Linked DNA regions of Homo sapiens: region 1 is linked to region 2. The links are contacts of gene promoters, found by promoter capture Hi-C in human tissues and cell types (Jung and others, 2019). All regions are on one chromosome and are shown on one strand. The core of a region is centred on a gene start or on the middle of the fragment in contact, and the rest is flanking DNA. Distances in the headings are between cores, read along the strand shown.

The links. The method cuts DNA at HindIII sites, captures the fragments that hold promoters and counts their contacts. A contact is called where the count stands out against the background at its distance.
Region 1: a contact is called between a fragment that was not itself captured here and the fragment with the promoter of GLB1L2 in region 2, in 3 of the 25 tissues and cell types used here (H1 embryonic stem cells, IMR-90 fibroblasts and lymphoblastoid cells).

What each region holds. Positions count from the first base shown.
Region 1 is chr11:134,804,283-134,807,518 of GRCh38, reverse strand. No RefSeq gene overlaps it. Among named protein-coding and RNA genes, the nearest start is that of LINC02714, 70 kb to the right of the region's middle. The HindIII fragment of the contact is 4,993 bases long and covers 1-3,236 here.
Region 2 is chr11:134,329,684-134,333,237 of GRCh38, reverse strand. It overlaps GLB1L2 (galactosidase beta 1 like 2), which reads right to left and starts at 1,250. Exons shown (of 19, transcript NM_001370461.1): 1 at 1,091-1,250. The coding sequence starts at 1,176. RefSeq lists a silencer at 1,101-1,400. The HindIII fragment of the contact is 11,293 bases long and covers 1-3,554 here.

The DNA.
Region 1 (3,236 bases), core at 32-2,531, 470 kb before region 2:
TCTACCAGAAATCAGAGCTGTGACTACAGCTACATTTCAGAGCTGGAGGAAAATTAAGGACATGGAATTCATACAGAACACGATCAGATCACCTCCTCCTCTCTATCTCCAGTGCCTCCTGTCTTCCTCTTGAAAGGACTGTTGTGATTATCTGGGCACACTTGTATAATCTAGAATAATCTCTACATCTCAAAGTTCTTGAATTTATCACACCTGCAGTGTCCCTTTTGCCATATATTATAAAATAGCATTCACAGATTAATTCACAGGGATTAAGACATGAACATCTCTTTTTCAGCCTATTACAAAAGCTGTATTTATAATGACCTGAATGTCCATCAACAACGCATGGATAAACAAATGTATATTCAAACAATGGAATACCATTCAGCCATAAAAGGAATTACTATCTGACATTTTGAGAACAATGACTTGACCTGGTAATAGAATAGCACTCCAGTTACAGCCAAGAAGTTTTTGAAGTCCACACTCTGTCTTCCTAATTTTGGCCCTCACAGCTACTCCAGTCCCCTAATCATAAACATTGCACCTGAGGATTCTCAGAACCACCTTCCCAGAGAGCAGCTGGGTTGTCCTCCTCAATCCAAGAAAATATTCATTATCCTGAGCAGCCACTGAGAGGAGGCCTCTATCCTGAAGGTTCCAGATTCTCAAGAAAGAAGAAAAAGTTGACATTTCTGGAGATGAGGAGGCTATTAATGAAAATTCAGTAAGAAAAACTGTAAGAGGATTCAAAAGCTATCCATCCACTCGGAGATGCTCTTTACAGGTAGCAAGTTGAGAAGGGAGGAGTGGAACAGCTGTGCCTCCATCAACAGCATCTCCTCGCTGCTCACACCCACCGTTCCCCAGGGCACGTCCGTGTGGCAGGATGGGAGGAAGGATCTCAGTCGCTGATCATGCCATGGCATCCAACATCCCTGTAGGTCAGCCTCCAAGGCCTTCACCCCCCTCCTTTCCTTCTCTCTACCATTTCCATTGCTTGGTCCTTTGCTTCTTCTCCTTAAGCTCCTTGAGCGCTTGCTGCTACAGCTGCTTTGATACATGTAGGGATATGTAGGGCTATGTAGGGCTGAAGTTCATTCAGCCAGGACCAAGTTTCTCTGACTTTACAAGAGGAGGCACTTTCTGGGGTGGGAGCCTGGAAGCTCAACTGAGTCCTGACAGGGAGATCCAGCTCTGTGTGTTGGCCATCACCCCTGTATCCTTTCCCAGTCACTGGGAGCGTGGGAAGAGGGCAGCACCAGGGAGGGCTCCTGACACCTGTGACTCTCACACAGGTCACTCAGCGGTTCCCATTATTTACTTCTGGTCAGGAGCCTGGGTCAGCATGGAGAGAAGGGAAAGACGTGACAAATGCTTTTGTGTTATTATGATTTGGGGCAGTTCGGTAATGTATTAAAATAATTACCTGTGAGAATATCACTGTAGATCATGCGAGCATTAGGAGAATAAGGAAATACCATGAACAGCTCTAGACACAGAAATTGAAAAATTAGATCAAATGAATCAATCCTCATAAAGCGCAAGCTTCCCTAACATGAAATAGATATTTGAAAGTGCGTAAATTACTTAGGAAACTGGGTTCATAATTTAAAACTCAAAATCTCCAGACCCAAATGGCTTCACTTAAGAATTTCACCAAACATTTAAAGAAGAATTAATACCACTTACATGTAGTCTTCTCCAGAAAGTAGAAGTGAAGGAACACTTCTTCCTAATTCCTAATTTCCTTTTCTGAAGCCTCAGATCTCCAAATCAAATAAAACAATACAAAATAGCTCATAAATAAAGATGTAAAAATCCTTAACAAAACAATAGAAAATAGAATCCATTTATTTGTTTGCTTATTCATTTATACACAATAACCATGGGATGCAAGACTAAAGAGCAATTACATGACTATGTCAAACACTGGACAAAAATCAGTACCAATTAAATTCGTAAAAAAAAAAAACTCACAATTACATGACTATGTCAAACACTGGACAAAAATCAGTACCAATTAAATTCGTAAAAAAAAAAAAAACTCAGAAAGCTGGAACTAGAAGGCAACTCCTATCACTTGATAAAGATCATCTCCAAAATTCCACAGCTGACAGGACACTGAATAGTGAATGCTGAATGCATCCCACTCCCATCAAGAGCGAGGTTAGGGTGTTTGCTCTCACCATTCTCATTCCACTTGCTACTGGAACTTCTAGCCATAAGTGGCATACAGATCAGAAAGGAGGAAATAAAACTCTCTCTACTTGCAAATCACATGATCACCTCAATAGAAAATCCCAAGGAATTTAAAACCCCGAAACAAAACAAACCCCCAAGAACGAGTAAGTAATTTCAGCATGGTTACAAGGTTAGCCATACAAAAATCAATTGCATTTCTATATACTAGCAATGCACACATGGAAAGAAAAATTTAAAATACAAAACCACTTATAATCACCAAAGACATGAAACACCTAGATGTAAATCTAATAAATCATACATGCAAATCATATGACGATAACTACAGCATACTGATGAAAAATTTAAAACACGTTTAAACACATGGAGACATGCTGTGTTCCTGGATTGGAATACTCAGCATAATAAAGATGTCAATTCTCCTCAAATTGGTATACAAGTTTAATGTCATTGCCAACAAATTCTAATTCTCAGCAAGCTATTTTGTGGATATAGAAAAGATTGTTATAAAATGTATATGAAAATGAAAAAATACTAGAATAGCTAAAACACTTTTGAAAAACAGTGGGAGGAGTCATTCTATCTGAAGTTAACACCTACAATATACAGATGATCCCCGACTTATGATGGCTTGACCTAGGATGTTTCAGCTTTACAATGGTGCAAAACCAATATGCATTCAGTAGAAACAGCACTTCAAATTTTGAATTTCTATCTTTTCCTGTGCTAGTGATATGCCCTGTGATACAGGGCTGGGCAGCAGCAGGGAGCCTCAGCTCCAGTCAGCCTCGAGATCACGAGGGTAAGCAACCGATACTGATTCGTGACATCTTCCTGAGGAACACGATTCCTGCTAAACCACCAATAAGTGTAGGTGCCCTAGAGCCTTCCAGCAGCAATTCCCAAGCCATATCAGAAAAGAGAGAGGTTGGTGACCCTGCAGCACAACCATCGTCCAGCAGTTAATTTTAGTTCAGGGCTTTGAACGTTCTTCAGGCCCAGCACGCTTCCAGCTGTGTATGTTGATG
Region 2 (3,554 bases), core at 1-2,500:
AAATCCGTCCTTCTCCCAAACAATATCATGACGTCCCCACTATCTCAGAAACAAGAATCCAGTCTTGACAAGGTGTAAACATAGAGTTTGTCAGTGTGTTCTTCTGGCCACAAAGGACTTCCAGATATTTATCTCCATCAAAAACTTCCCTGTCTCCCAGGGGAAGTGCAGAGAAACTAAGAACTTAGTTTCTCTAAGTAAAAAAGAAGCAAATGACAAAGCCGAGCGGCGTAGGGCCTGCCACCACTTCCAACCGTTCAGTTCATTCGATACTGCCGGTCGGCTTCCCACTGGAGGTTTTGAATATGGAAAGTGCTGACCTGAAAGATAGGGTCAGGGCTGTAGAATCCTTAAAATAAGCACAGTTTAGAAAAATGCTGGGCTAGGGCACCCAGAAAACTTTTTCACAGGCTGTGGGTAAATCACAGTATCACTGAAGCCACTCCTTTGCCATAAACAACATTTGGAAAAGGGGGAGAGGAAAGGGTGAGCTGGTAACAGGTGAATGGTGGGAAAGTGGAGAGAGACGACCTATCAGTCCTACTGTGCAAATAAATCATGGCCCGGGATCTTGGAGGCCCACGGACACTGTTCTTACGACCCTGCCAGGCCAGCTGGCTAGACCATACCTGCCAGGCTGAAGCGCCGGCCTCTGCGGAATAAGGCGCCTCCCAGAGGCTTGGGAGGAAAAGGGGGGCCTGGGGGAAGGGCAGAGGGAGCTCTCCGCGGAGCAGTGGGGACGGGGCCGCGATGGGGTGCGTCTGAGAGGGCTCTGACGGCTGGAGGGCTGCGGGCGTCCACGGGGGGCAGAGCCCGGCGTCACAGGCGCGGCGGGGTGGGCGGCTCGGGGCACAGACGCCGGCTCCCGAGGGCACGCCGGGTGTCGCCCAGAGGCCTGGATCGCGCGGCAGGAGTAGAGTGCCTGCAGCCGCAGGGGAACTCGGGGGTATTGGGGAGCTCCCAGAAAGAAGCAGCTGGGGCTGCTCCCCCCGGGAACTCGGGATTCGCGGGTCGCGGGAGGAGAGAACCCGAGGTGCGGAGGGCTGGGGAATGTGGGGTCCGGCAGGTGCTGCGCGAAGCTCTCTCTCACCTGCGGAGCACCAGGAAGCCCAAGACGACCAGCAGCAGGAGTCCCAGCGTGCGGGCCGGCCTCCGCCGGAGGCTCCACGTGGTCATCGCGTGTTCTCTAAGCGCGGGGACCCGGGTTCCCACTCCAGTCCGCACTCAGCCGCGCGCGGGAGCCTCGCCGCGGGGGGCGGAGCCGCGCACTGGTCGCCTGGGCAACCGGCCCGCCGGCGCTCATTGGCTGGGGCTCGCGGCTCCGCGCCTGCAGCCCTAGGCCTCGCGCAAGCGGGGGCGGGGCTGGCCGGGGCCGGGGCGGGGCCTCTGTCGGGGGGGGGGCGGGGCGGGGCTGGTGGGCGGGGACGAGGTCTCGGTAGGAGAGGGGGCTGGCGGGGGCGGGGCTGGCGGGGCGGGGCCCCGGCCGGGGGCGGGGCGGGGACAAGGTCTCGGTAGGGGACGGGTCTGGCCGGGGCGGGTCCCCAGTGTCGTGGAGCGGTGCAGAGTCCGCCGTCTTTCTGCTCGCGAGGCGCAGGCGGGTGCGGGAATGCTGCGTACCTGTCAAACGCCGAGGTAAAGTCGCCCCTCGCAGCGCTACATCAGGAAGAACGTACAAAAGGCGTCCGCAAAGCAGGGGCAACCAACAGAATCTTTTAAAACAATTCAGATTCTGAAGCAAACAACTTTTTCAATAACAAATCATCCTGTGAAAAGCCAGGATTTTGAAGAATTGTATCTGGACACATTTCAGTGTGGTTCATGTCTGAGGAGGGGGGGTTCCAAATATTTTCTGTCTTTGGTTTCTGCGAGTCTTACTCTGGCCTTGACTCCAAGGGCTTCCAATTTTTTATTTTAAAAAGGTCCATATAAAACTCTCACATTTTAGGAAAGGAAGAATATCATTCTTATTCTGAAACAGAATGTATGTCCCAAAGAACATGATGTAGTATTTCGGTGCAACTTACACTGTAGCAATCACAAACCCAACTCCTCCCGGGAACAAAATTCAGATTTTACTGAAAGAAACTCGAGGAAGGGCAACGTTTTCCAGAGCATCCGGGTTTGTCGAATGTCTCCCTTGCCGCATGCTTTGAATTCATTTCCTAAACGGGGGCATAGTTTTGAACTTGTAAAGCCGACAGGAACCAAATGAAATTGCAGATCTTGGAACAAAGACACAGACTTGGGTATGAAGTGTCCTTTGTCTAGCGTTAAGCACATATTTAGTCAAGGAGCAAAAGTTAAATCAAAGAGAGGCAAAAACAAACGAACAAACAAGAGGAAAAAAACCCTGGCAGAACTGGGGAGGATAAGCTGGGCTTGGAGCAATCCGGGTCTGACTTAAGCACCGCAAACATTCCCAGAGGCGCGCAGAGGGAGGCCCACTCCCGTGGACGCGCTCCAAGCCCGCTCCTTTTCTCCATTGGGTAAGGCTATGATTGCTTGATGGCTATGAAGTCTGTGATGGAAACATGTTGGTTTAATTGGAATATACCAGCTAGCCCCGAAGCGTGTGGAGAAATTGTCAAAGGCTAGCCCCTTTGCCTGCAGGGGACCATCCGAAAGACATGCACCCCACATTCATCCTCTCACTTCTGGTCACGTTGAACAGTGGCAGAATCTATCAAATATAAGGGAATTCTCAAATGGTTTAAGCAATACAAGCATCTCCATTTTTCTTCAAACGTTAGCAAAAACTTAACATGGGTTGTGAAAACCGTGAACTCCTTGGCCCACCCTTGTATCCTTCGTTTTTATTTGTGCGAGAAAAATATACATAACTGAGTGTTTTCAAAAAAATTTCCCCTTAACCTTGTGGGATGTTCAGAACTAGGGACACACCCTGCTCACAGTCTAGGAACAATTTTACTTTATCTGGGCTTAATGATACCACAGAATGCTACAAAGTTAGCACTAACCCGAGATGCGTCTTGCTCATAGGCTGAGACTTTTTTTTTTTTTTTTGAGACAGAGTCTCACTCTGTTACCCAGGCTGGAGTGCAGTGGTGCAATCTCAGCTCACTGCAATGCCTCCCGGGATGCAAGCTATTCTCCTGCCTCAGTCTCCCGAATAGGTGGGACTGCAGGCACCCACCACCTTCCCCGGCTAATTTTTGTATTTTTAGTAGAGACGGGGTTTCACCATGTTGCCCAGGCAGATCTCAAACTCTTGACCTCAGGTGATCCACCTGCCTCGGCCTCCCAAAGGGCTGGGATTACAGGCGTGAGTCACCATTTCCAGCCTGAGACTTTTGTTTTTTAAAACATTAGGCCGGGTGCGGTGGCTCAAGCCTGAATCCCAGCACTTTGGGAGGCCGAGGGGGGCAGATCACGAGGTCAGGAGATCGAGACCATCCTGGCTAACACGGTGAAACCCCATCTCTACTAAAAATACAAAAATTAGCCGGGCGTAGTGGCGGGCGCCTGTAGTCCCAGCTACTCAAGAGGCTGAGGCAGGAGAATGGCGTGAACCCAGGAGGCAGAGCTTGCAGTGA